3 separate regions of the Homo sapiens genome follow, and all the other regions are linked to region 3. The links are contacts of gene promoters, found by promoter capture Hi-C in blood cells and fetal thymus (Javierre and others, 2016). All regions are on one chromosome and are shown on one strand. The core of a region is centred on a gene start or on the middle of the fragment in contact, and the rest is flanking DNA. Distances in the headings are between cores, read along the strand shown. Region 1 overlaps CDK17 (cyclin dependent kinase 17). Region 2 has its middle 15 kb from the start of CDK17. Region 3 holds the start of ELK3 (ETS transcription factor ELK3).

The links. The method cuts DNA at HindIII sites, captures the fragments that hold promoters and counts their contacts. A CHiCAGO score of 5 or more calls a contact.
Region 1: a fragment that was not itself captured here is called in contact with the fragment with the promoter of ELK3 in region 3 in 7 of 17 cell types (non-activated CD4 T cells, naive CD4 T cells, fetal thymus and 4 more); the score reaches 8.4 in non-activated CD4 T cells.
Region 2: a contact is called between a fragment that was not itself captured here and the fragment with the promoter of ELK3 in region 3, in 1 of 17 cell types (total CD4 T cells). The highest score is 5.2, in total CD4 T cells.

The regions. Positions count from the first base shown.
Region 1 is chr12:96,395,572-96,399,842 of GRCh38, reverse strand. All of the region lies in intron 1 of CDK17 (cyclin dependent kinase 17), which reads left to right. Among named protein-coding and RNA genes, the nearest start is that of CDK17, 2.7 kb to the left of the region's middle. The HindIII fragment of the contact is 590 bases long and covers 1,728-2,317 here.
Region 2 is chr12:96,413,175-96,417,260 of GRCh38, reverse strand. No RefSeq gene overlaps it. Among named protein-coding and RNA genes, the nearest start is that of CDK17, 15 kb to the right of the region's middle. The HindIII fragment of the contact is 2,544 bases long and covers 130-2,673 here.
Region 3 is chr12:96,192,343-96,196,669 of GRCh38, reverse strand. ELK3 (ETS transcription factor ELK3) reads right to left here and starts at 2,295. Exons shown (of 5, transcript NM_005230.4): 1 at 1,965-2,295. RefSeq lists an enhancer at 920-999 and a silencer at 2,331-2,470. The HindIII fragment of the contact is 11,050 bases long and covers 1-4,327 here.

The DNA.
Region 1 (4,271 bases), core at 773-3,272, 200 kb before region 3:
AGGCGCGGCGCGGGGGGCTAGCGTGCGCCTGTCACCTCTCCGGTCCAGCGAGGACCTTGGGTCGCCCGGGGATTTCCGGGGCTCGGGTGGGGTGTGAGTGTCTGCGAGCTGCTTCCCAGGAGGCGCCGACAGATATAGACGCCGCCGCCTCCGGTGCTCGCTGCCGCTTTGGTCTGCGGGGGAGGCCGGTCTCCTCGCGAGGCGGAGGAGGGGAAAGAGGCAGAAAGTCCCCCGAGACACAAAGGTCCCCTCGGCGGGGGTGGAGCTGGAGGCGCAGGCGACGCTGCCCGGGAGGGGAAGGAAGGGGCGCGGGTCCGCGGGAGGTGGGCGAGGAGGCGGCGGTCGCGGCGCCTGCAGCTCCTTGGAGACGCTGGCGCTGTGCGCGGGTGGGGAGCGCGGAGGAGGAGGAGGAGCCCGCGCGTGGGAGCGGGTAGAGACAAAGATCAGGGCAGCCTCCTGCTGGCGGGTCACACCCCGGAGTGTTGGTCAAGAGCGGAGGTAGAGGGAAGGTGGGAAACCCAGCAAACCGATGGGGAGGGGAAAATGGGGGGAGGAGGGTGCCTAGTGCTGTCTCCGTCGCAGTTGCTTTTCTCAGCATTTTTGTGCCCGATGCTATGCCCGATGCTTTTGCTCCCCAACTCAGCTGGATAGCTCCAGATTCCCTCCCTCCTGTCACCCCCACACTGCCACATTGACTCTCCTGTGGTTTTTCCCTCGTTCTCCCCCTACTTTTCACCCACTCCTTTTCGGGTAAGCAGTATTTTGCTTTCAGCTTGGGGAACATTTGTTAATGACAGGATGTCTGAGCTTGTTCTGACCCTGAACTGCCTTGAACTTCTCTCTCTTCCTCCCACCCTTTCCTTTTCTGGGATCTATAATGTCACATGGCCGTTAACAATTAGCTTTTCTTTTGCAAAAGTGGCAAAAAGCGTTTAGCTGAAATCTGTGGCTCTCGCCTCCTTTACATGAATATGTCCACCAAAGACACCTCGTTGGTCATGTTCTATCACCTCTTCGTCAAATTGACATCAGGTCCTAACAGGTCACTTTCAAGATACAGAAGAGGCAAATTTTGTTTTGAGACTTGGCCATTCCTAGGGTCAGCAAAGTGTATTCCTGGCAGCCAGACCTTCAGTCACTTATCAGGAAATGCTTGACCTAAAGACAGACAATTCTTTCCCCAAACTTTGCTGTTTCTTTTTTGAGTCTTTGTTGAAAGATTTCTTTTAAAAGGCGTTCGTGTGAGAAGATCACAGCAACAAATCTGGCTTGTTCTGTTTTAGACTTACTTTCTTAACTCTTGGGCAGAAGAAAATGAATGAGATTTGAAGACCTTTGATACCTTGGGTAGACAAAGCTTGCCTTGAAACTAGAAATAAGACGAAACTAGATTTTAAGGGGAAAAAATTTGCTAGTGGTAATATAATTGGTTTTGTTTCATTTTTTTATGAGTCTGAGGAGTTGACATTAAACGTTGGGATGTTGCTTTGTTAATGAAGTCATTTCAATTTTTGCAACTCTTAACATCTGCATGCTTCCATAAACAGTGGGTTGGAACAAAAGAAAATGTGACTAAGGGATATTCCTTAAATTCTTTTTTATGTTATGAGAGAGAATATTGGAATATAAAGAATGTTACTTTATCTGGTAAACCATCTCATAGGCCAGAAGCACTAACAGTTTGAATGGTTGGCTTAAAAAAAAACGGGAGTCTTTGAATTTAAGCTTATGTAAAATTACTATGCAAATATAGGTTATTATTTATTTTTACAGTGAAAATAAAACACTATTGAAGTATAAATGGAAAGAAAATAAAAGCAAAGCCTGTTTAATATAGAGACATTAATGTTGATATCACTGTACGAACAGTCATAGCTTGCTGCTCACTGCCGTTAAAGGGTTGACATACAAACATTGTGGAAGAGATTTCAGTTTGAGGGCTAGTGTCTGAATTATGGACTCCTTACCCTACTCCACCACTTAAAACATTTTAGAGACTTTTGTGAAATTAACAGGTCATATAATTAATAATTGTTGTTTTATGTACATTTATTGAAAGGCCATATTGAGGCTCCATTGATTTTTTTTCCTGCATATTTATCAGTATCGAATTAGAAAATTGAACCTTCAGTGTTACTAGATGGAAATCTACCAAAAAGTAGCAAGGTTTACGAATGGTGGGATTTATTGGTGATTAAACATTTTTTTCCTGTATTTTATAAGTTTCACATTACATTTACAATGAGAAAAAAATGTAAATGTAGAATTAAAGTCTTGTTAATATCGTAATTTGCCTATTGCTGTACTAAAAGAAGCTTCTATAAAATGTATCATTCTCATCCTTAGATTCAGGCCAGAAAGTAACTTTCAGTGTTAGGTATTTGAAATAATGCAGCCTGTCATATGTACTCTGGTTACCAGAATGAAAAAACAAAAAGAGATACATACATAGTAAGGAAACATGAAATTGGAGGAATTGATCCCCATGTGTATTGCAGCTTCATATACCAGTAGTCTCTAATAAGTCATTGCTTTAATAAAAAAAAAAATAGAAAATTTAAATTTTATTTGCCCGGTAGCACAGGGATAGCTATGTTGACTAAGCGCAGATTTTAACGTATATGTTTGTTGATATATTTAGTTTTCAGATACCAGTTCAGTCCTACAATTATGGCGAAACTAGATGGCATATAAAATCATTTTGTTGCTTTGTTGAGGCTTGTTTTTTTCCTTATTTTCAGCAATATTTTCCTTCTTTCCTTTCACTGAAAAACAATGCAACTATTTTATTTTGAACAATGGAAGCTGTAATGGCAACTGGGGTAGCTATTCAAAAGTGGAGATGACGATGTCCCTTAATATTATAACAGTTATCTGTGAACACAAAAATTTTTACCCTATGATTTTCTTTGTTATTGTCTACTAATGCTGAATATTTATAAGACATTACATTTTGAATCTTTATTGATGTTTCCTAGTCTTTAGAAAATTTTACCGTCATGGGCTAGCATTCTTTTACATGGCATTTAGATTTCCAGGATGTTCTTTGTATTTTTTGTTTGTTTGTTTGTTTTGTTTGTTTTAGACTTTCAGGATGGATAATTACTTTATTGCTATATTGTAAAAATTATATTCTCTAGGGAATTTTACCTGTTTAAAAAATTGTCTCAGTTTTCATACATGGGAAGGATGAATAGTTTTAGGTTCTTTTGAATTTTGAATGGATAATTTTTGCCTAAACTTTTAAACAGGAAATCGGTATTTAAAGTATATTTCATAAAGTGATAATGGCATTTTGCATTTTAAATGCAGAAGATAAACAATAGGTTTATGGCATTTAAAAATGTGCTTTATGTAGCATTTTTGAAGTTAAAAAAACTGCCTGTAATAGCGAACCTAGTGTAGTTCACTAGCATTCAATCTACAATGTTGGCAATTTCTTTGAACTGATGGGGAGAGGACCAGTTAGACTGGCTTTTAAGAATTTTTATTGTCATCAGTGGATTCTTTGTCATTATTTTGCTTCCAATATAGTTAGTTGGTGGTTACTTTTGATATCTGCAAAATATTGACCTGGCAAGAGGAATTGCCAAGGGCCAGAGAAGTGTATTGAATATACCTCAGTGTAGTTTATTGTTCCCAGCCTGTCTGCCTCTCCCTGTTGGCCAACATGGAAAATCAATAGACATCTACCAGTAAATCTAATAAGTAATGTTACCGTGTTCTGCAGTAACCTGCAATACTGAATACTGTTTGAGGATGTAGATTTACAGATCTATGGCATATTGGGATGAGGTGAAAATTATCTTGCTCTCCAAAGTCTCCTTTTGAAAATATTTTTTGATATCACCTTATTTTACTTGGGGTACTATAACAAAATACCATACATTGAGGTGGCTTAAAACACAGACGTATTTTCTCACAGGTCCGGGGCTGGAAGTCTGAAATCAGCTAAGCACCTGCCCTCTCAGCTGTCTTCTCCCTGGGCACTCTTAAGTCCTTTCCTCCCTGTCTGCAGGTGAAGTGGGAGGGAGGGGAGGGAGAGGTGAGGATGTCTTTTTCTTTTCTACTTAAAAGGGCACAAATCCCGTCATGAGAGGGTCTCACTCTTAGGACCTAATCTAAACCTAATTACTTCCCAAAGGTCCACCTCTAATAGCCATCACACTGGGAGGTTTGGACTTCAACATGTGAATTTTGGGGGTACACAGATCTTCAGTCCATAACATAAACTTTGTGAAAGAAATTAACGTTAATTATTTACCTCCTCT
Region 2 (4,086 bases), core at 152-2,651, 220 kb before region 3:
AAAAACACAGTTTTATATTATATTATCCTAAGAATTCATGAGACAGTGTGGTGGTTTTGTTGTTGCTATTGTTGTTTGTTGTTTTGTGAAGAAGATTCAATCTGAAAAGGCTGGAATTTTCCAAAAGCTTGTATTTGCCCTAACACTTCCCATCCTGAAACATCTGACAAGGCTTCTAATTGCATTGCTAGGCACAGGAAGCCACATGTAATGTAAGCCTCGTACTTTTTAAATGGTCAAGTTGAATTATGACTTGGAATAAAGGAATAATAGGGAATTAGCCCCTTTGCCAAATAAAATACTCTATTCTGAATTTACTGACATTTCATCTATTATTCTGAATTAGAACATGGAGTAACTTGCAATTATGCCATTTCTGTTTGGCAAAAAAGTGCCATATCTCAGTTCAGTCATTTTCTAATGCTTATCTGTCATATATGAGTTGAAATTTTTAAAAAGAAATTTTGTTATTCCCTTTTGGAAACCTCAAAGGTTCTGAATTACTTAAAATGGTAGAGAGTTACTTCCTCAAGTAAAAACTCTAATTGCAAACAGAACCTTGAGACTATAGTACACATGCAATGTTTGGCAATGCATCTGGTTTTTCTGCTTTGATGAAGAAAGAAGCTCAACACGTCACTATGTGTCACGGCTTTCTATAGCATCTTGCAAAAGCATTAAAGTCCCTGCCAATAGTCCTGAAAGATGTTTTACCTATAGCTGCAGACGTCATCAATTTCTCCAGATCCCAGGCTTTGACTCATTGGTGTTTAAAGAGATTTTTGTCAAGAAATAAAAGCAGAATACATGAATAAGGTAAGGCTTTTGTTCAGCATAAGATCCTGAGGTTGCCATTTTGGAAACCGACCAGAAAAAAAAAAAAAATCTGTGAGTCCTTTTGGCTAAGTTGCCACTGAGGGAGAGGAGATTGGGAACAGACAAATATGAACAACTTTTCCACGCCGGAGGATATTCTCCTGGCTCTGTTTAAGAGTGATGAAACATGTTGATTTCTCACAAGGTAGAAATCTACAGACTTCCGGAAACACTGCAGAATACCTCTAAAGGTTAAACTGGTTTGACCTTAAAATTGGAATGGTTATTTTAACCATTTTCTTGCTGACATATGCAACATAGATGATGCAGACTTTGCAAAGATGACCAACTTTGTAGATGTGAGGAAATGATGCAACTGCATTAGCTTGAAGGGTCCTAGAGAAATCCAGTGCATCTGGACTTAAACCTATTCATTTGCGACAACATACTTTTGTTAATCTGGGCTTTCTTACATTTGTTGCTATCAAAATTGATAGACTTACCACAAATGACAAGCATATTACCATGTAAGACTATGCTGTAATTTCTTCTCAAGTCAAGTAATGGCAGCCTTTATGTTGAAATTTGCTTTGGGGGAAGAATTTTAATTTTTTTCTTTTGTATTTGCTCACTGAATTTATTTTAGATTACTCCATTTACGTGAATAAACAAGAATGAGAGAAGAAAATTTTTTATAGGATTTTTTTTCTGTGTGAAGAAGTCAATTTCTAATACAATAAGATAAAATATGTGCCAAAATTAGGCGGGATGTTTATGTGCATTTTTGTGAGAAAGTGATTCTTATCTTTGATCAGGTCAAAAGAGGTGAATGACCCTCTCCCACCAATAAACAGGGTTAAGAATTGCTCGTTTAAACACCCACTTTAGGCTGGGCACAATGACTCACACCTATAATCCCAGCACTTTGGGATGCCAAGGCTGGAGGATTGCTTGAGTCCAGGAGTTTGAGACCAGCCTGGGCAAAACAGTGAGACCCCATCTCTACAAAAAATACAAAAATTAGCTGGGCTTGATGGCATGCACCTGTTGTACCAGCTACCTGAGAGGTTAAGAGGATACCTCGAGCCTGGGAGGCAGAGGCTGCAGTGAACTATTATCATGCCATTGCACTCCAGCCTGGGAGACAGATGGAGACCCTGTCTCAATAAATAAATGGCGACTTTATTTTATAGTGAATAAGTGAAGCCCCTGGAACATCAAACATTTGCCTAAGGTGACACAGCTAGTAAGTGTTAGGACTGGAATTTGAATCCAGTTATCTTATGTCTAAGGCGTAAGAGACATGTACTATATGAACTACTATATATGTAGCCATTACATTTCCTCAATGGGGCATCCCATAGTGACATAAGAAAGTTATTTGGAACCAGAACAAATCAAACCAAACCAAACCAAAACAAAACAAAAAAACAACCAATAAAACAAACAACAAAATTATGTGAAAGTGAAGTCTTTTGTTCCAAATGTGTGACTATCAGATTTTCTCAACCTTGACTTCCAACCTGTCCAAACCTGTGCTAACTGCCAGCTGCTTGGAAAATCCATCTGCCACCTACCGCATCTTGTTCCTGCTTGTTTTTCTTCTTTAATGACAGATGTCCCAGTTACAAATCCAATAGCAGATTTAAGCATCTGAAATAACCAACACCAGCCTTTACCTGGGTGTGTCTCTATTCTCAAAACCCAAACTCTGGCTTTTCCTGGTGTGTCACTTTGCCATTGTCTGAACTCTGGATATAATACTTTATACTACAGTTTGGTGAGTTCTTGGGGCTATATGTTGAAATAAACCCATTGCTTTAAAGAGAAAAAGGTACAGGAAGCTAATTTAAAGCTTTTTTAATTTTCAAGTATAAAAAAGTCATACATTTTCACATTTAATTCAATAAAATATCTTTTCATAGCCTGAATTTTTTTTTTTTTTTTGAGTTCAAGAATTTCTTTTTTTCTTTCTTTCTTTTTTTTTTTTTTTGAGATAGAGTCTCACTTTTGTCACCCAGGCTGGAGTGCAATGGTGAAATCTCGGTTCACTGCAACCTCCACCTCCCGGGTTCAAGGGATTCTCCTGCCTCAGCCTCCCGAATAGCTGGGATTACAGGCATGCACCACCATGCCTGGCTAATTTTTTTTGCAGTTTTTGTAGAGATGGGGTTTCACTATGTTGGCCAGGCTGGTTTCGAACTCCTGACCTCAGGTGATCTGCCCGCCTCAGCCTCCCAAAGTGCTGGGATTATAGGTGTGAGCCACCGTGCCCAGCCAAGAATTTCTTTTTAATTGCCGATCAAAACAACAAAAGAGAGTTGAGATTTTGACTCTTGGTATTTCCTGTCTGCCATTTCGAAGATGGGGTAGGCTATTTGAATTACATCTGCTGTTAGTATATGAACAATAAATAACAACATTAGCTATCAATATCAATATGGTGCTGTGATGCTGAGAACTATATAAGCATTGCCTCTGGCCTCCTTACAATCACTTTGCAAAGCAGAAAGTATTATCCCAATCTGCAGATGAGAAAATGGAGATCAAAGAAGTTAAGTGACTTGCTAAGTAGGAATACACGGTTATAAGTGACAGAGTCAGAGTTGGAACCCAGGAGCAAATATTTTTTAAAAATTCATATTAAGCCCAGCATGTGGACAAAAACTTTCTTTTCATGAATGAGTATAATTTAAAGGTAGTCTAGGAAAAACAGGTACCTACTGCTGGGAATCCCAACGGCCTTTGTTAGTTCCCAGTCCAATTTCCCCACTGTAAGCAGGAATCCTTTAGTTTGTAGCAGCAGTGGGTGAAATCAAGGTGGGTGGTTTGGGAGAATAAACTAAAATGGACATCCCATCTGGGAAGTTAATAGTATCCAGGGAAATGGTGGCAGAGGCAGCCATCCCTGTATCTGATTTCTCACAAAAATGCACATAAACACCCCCCCATCCCCAATTTTGGTAAACACTGCATCTTAATGCATTAGAAATTGACTTCCTTCATATAGAAAAAAAATCTTAGAAAAAATTTTCTTCCCTCGTTTTTGTTTATTCACATAAATGGAGTAATCTGAAATAAATCCAATGTGTGCAAACACCAAAGAAAAAAATTAAAACCCTTCATTCAAAGCAGCATGTGCAGACTCCGCTTGCATGAAAACATTGTGGTACCCAGCAATGGAGAAGGGGAATTAAATGATCTATATGGTAGCTGACTGGGCAGGACCCCAAACAAGAGTGGCACCCCTTCACTCCAATGACTCCTAGG
Region 3 (4,327 bases), core at 1,046-3,545:
GCAGGATCATTACTGGAAACTCTAAGAACACTTATGGACAGTCTCCTTAACTGCCTGACCCATGTGCCCTCCTAACACAATTTGTAATTTTATCATCCTCATAAATTGAAACTCCTAACTGACCTTTTCCAAATAAATGGGTGCCATGGCGAGAGAGAAAGAAAAAGAGATCAGAGGGTATTTTGTAAGGCTCACAAATCGATTTCGGCTCATGAATAGATGCCTGGAACATGCTCCACACCCCCCCCACCCCCAAAGACAAGCACAGATGGAGAAGATGGGTGTGTGTGAGCTGCTTATCTCCCCCCACCTCTCAACACACATACACACGCGGGAAAGAAAAACCTGCAAATCTGAAATCCAAAATGGCCAAAGTGACTTCAAAGTTTTCAAGACATGTCCTGAAAAGGCTCGTTGGGCGGCTGCACCCCTAAGTAAATAAAGCCATAACTTGTCTCCTTCCCCAGCGCCGGGCTCCCAGGCTGACAGTGGCTGCACAAAACCCCTCCTGTGCCGAGCAGCGGAAACTCCTAATGAGATTAGTTGGTGTGTGTGCAGACATTACTTAGCAATGACTAAGGGGGCTCTCTCTTCCTGCAGCAGCCAGTGGAAAATTCAAGGAACTTTTTCCCCCTGCAGCAGCAGAATCCCTTTAACCCTCTCCGCAGCCAACTCCAAAAACAACTCAGCCTCCCCTTTCCCCGCCACCCCCAGGCTGGAGGACTGGGGTGGGGGTAGTTAAAGACCGGCCAGGGGCTTTCAAATGAGGGAGGGTGGGAGGGGGCTGGCGGGGAAGGGGCGGGGGACCCCTCGAACACTACAAAGGAAACTGTAAAAGGCACAAATACATAAACCTAAGAAGGAGCAAACCACAGTTTCTTTGTGAGCTCCTCTAGTGAGTCATTTTCAAGATGCTGTCTGCTGCCAGTTTCAAAGCGGAAGCGCATGGCAATTAGTCTTGCCGTTTCCAGACAAGCCAGAAACTCTCCCGACACTCGTTTTTTTTTCTTTCTAAAAAGCCCCTTTTGCAGTTTCTGAAATAACATTTCTTGCTTCCACCTCCACCCGCCGCCTAACTGCAGCTTGTCCCTAGGATGATTCGGTTCAGAAAAGATAACAAAACCAAGACCTTTTATTTTTGCTTTTTAACTACTCCAAAATCTTAATCCCGCCTCCCCAAAAGTTACAGTAGCGTCACAGGCCAACGTTGAGTTCGAAGGTAAACAGGGATGGGGAGTGGAAGGGGCCCCAAGATCATTTCTTGCCTGGTCCTTCTCCAAAACCATGCCCAATAGAGACCACCGGCTTTTAAATGTCCGATGGGGCGTGCGCCTGGGGCGGTGACCTGGGCGGGGGTCACCTGCCAAGCGAGAGTGGACGCAGCCCCCAGCCCCACACCTTCGCGACCCATGTCCTCCACCGCCCTCTCCATCCCTGTCTTCCTCCCTGGATCCGAGCACCAGTGCACTTTGCCCACTCGAGGGGAGCCTGACTGCGGTCCCAGCTGGAAGGTCGGCGGTGGTCCAGCCTCCAGGCACTCAGCCTGCTCCTGCCACGGTTCTTCCCAGGGACCCGAAGTCTCGCCGTCCCCCGCTCCCCGCGCTGCCTGCAGCGGGGCCCTGGGCGAGCTCCCAGGGTTGCACGCCCGGCGCCCCTTCCTCTGGGGTCGCAGCGCAGCCCCAGGGAGGGGAGCCGCGGGCGCAGGGTCCCCGCAGCCCCGGGCCCGGCGCGAGCTCGGGCGACGGCGGTGGCAGCGACGCGGGCGCAGGAGCATCCGCGGCGCCCCCTCCCCGCGGCCGGCCCTCCCGCGCGGACGCACCGCCACCCCCACCCCGGCCCGCAGCCCACCCCGCGGCGCCCCCCGCCCCACCCCCACCGCGCCCAAGAAAAGAAAGAAAAAAAGAAAACACCCCCAAACAAACTTTTTAAGTGTCCGAGCAACAGGCAGAAGCCCTGTTACCTACCCAGATGTGGGGGAGTCTTCTTCGGGGGGAATTTCTAGGAGGACCCGGGCGAAAGCCCCCGACTTTCCATGCTGACAGGCGTCTGCAGACGGTCTGTGGCTCTTGTAATGAGATCCTGATTTTTCCCCCTTTTTTTCTTTCTCTCGCTCCTCTTTTTTTTTCCCCTCTGGTGTGTGTGAGAGCAGGAAGTTGGAGCAGTCAGGCCGAGCCGGCTCACTTCCTTTACTGCATTATTCCCCAGGCGGTGTGCAGTCTGTGTAAACAGGCTTTTCCGCCCCGCGCCGCGCGCCCCGGCCGCGGCTGTGCGCCGGGGCTGGCCGCCCAGGCCCGCGCCTCCCCCGCCGCCCCGGCCCCGTGCGCGCCCCGCACCGCCCCCACCCGCCCCGCTTCCTGCGCGGCCACCCCGGGGAGGAGCCTCCGACCCGCGGCGACTCCGCGCGGCCGCAGCCCCTCCCCACGGGGAGGGGGGTCCGCCCGCAACCCGCAGAAGCCGCCGCGCTTCCCGGGACACCGGGGATCCCTCCTCACCTCAACCCCTGGGGGTCGAGCGCGCGGGGCACCACGACGGGGTCGTGCCCTGCGCAGTTGGCCCGGGAGGGGGGTCCCGAGGTGGGGAGGCGGCTGGACTCGCTGTTTCCCATCCGCTGGGATGGAAGAGTTGGGGGGCAGAGGGGAATCGAGAGTGGGGTTCAGGGTTTGGTTGCTCTGGGCAAAGGACTGCTTTTCTTGTGGGTGCGGGCACAGTTTCCGTCTGGGGTTGGAGATGGACACCGTTCCTGTCTGGGTTTTCGGTGTTTTAAAAGCCAGCCCTCGGCCGGGCGTGCTGGCTCACGCCTGTAATCTGAGCACTTTGGGAGGCCAAGGCGGATGGATCACCTAAGGTCAGGAGTTCGAGACCAGCCTGGCCAACACGGCGAATCCCCGTCTGTACTAAAAATACCAAAACAACAACAACAAAAACAGCCAGGTGTGGTGGTGGGTCCCTATAATCCCAGCTACTTGGCAGGCTGAGGCGAGAGAATCGCTTGAACCTGGGAGGCAGAGGTTGCAGTGAGCTGAGATCGCCCCATTGCACTCCAACCTGGGCAACCAGCGAAACTCCGTCTCAAAAAAATAAAAAAGCCAGCCCTCAGTTGGGGGGCGAGCCTGTGGGGAAAGGATAAGGAGCCACAACACTGGAAGTCATGGAAATAATGCCCGCAGGGTCAGAGACTGAGGCTTGAAGGGAGCCTCTGTGGTCTCAGAACTGGTCTTCACACCTCCACATCCCTCAAGGAGGTCCTGCCTCTGAGGGCTCAGGCCAGGCTCTGATGGGAGAGCCTGCCCATTGCCCTAGGCTGAGACAAGGTTGGGGGGGATGGCTGTTGAAGAGCCTCTCCCTTCCCAGGCCTGCGCCCCAACCTCACTGCTCACCTTCCAGAACCTTCCATTCCCATGCCGCCACTTAGCAGCCCAGACCCCTGGTTTTCAAACTTGACCCAAGGGGCTTGTTAAACCACTAGTGGCTGGGCCTCTCCTGGAGTCCCAGATTCAGTAGGTCGGGGGTGGTTCCGGGCCCCGGCTAATGTCAGAATCACCTGGGGAGTGTTTTGACACTCTCCAACAATATACTCAACCCAGGCCAATTAAGTCAGATTCTCTGGGGGCCGGGTGTGAGTCCTTTCAAAAGGACCACATTCTAAGAGTTCCTCCACTACGTTTGTTTCTAGTTTTGCAGTCTCTCCTGAAAGATTATTTTGTTTACAAATTTCTCACTGCCATCAACTGTGAGCTGCTAAAGGGCACGGGGTATGTTTTACTGATTAGTACCACATCCCAGCTCCAAGTGCCTATCAGAGCACACAGGTGATAGGAATTTCCTTCGGGCATTTGCTTCAGGGCTCCTGTGGGTAGTCCACTGGAAAGGGTGGGAGAATGCCCTCCAGACCTCTGAGAAGGAGTGGGAAACCCGTGGGGTGTAGGGTGGGGGCACGGTAGGAGAGTGGGGCAGAAGGAGAAGATATGGAAAAGAGGGCTGCTTATCAACCCCTGATTTCCCACAGCTAATTTTCCAATTAGGGTATTATTGTTTTAATCCCCAGTCATCTTCTTCTGTCACTCAGTAGAACACCTATGGTGTCCCTATATGATCCAGCTGTTGGACTGAGAGAATGTAAACTTATTATCCTCAGGGAAAAAAAAAAAATCCACACAGTTAAGAACTCATGTTGCTTTGCTTTAGGAGATATATGCCTGAAAGAAACCGGTCTGAAAAGGCTATGTTCTGTATGATTCCAAACTATATGACATTTTGTAAAAGGCACTATGGAGATAGTACAAAAGATCAGTGGTTGTCAGGGGTTAGCAGGGAGGGAGGGGTGGAC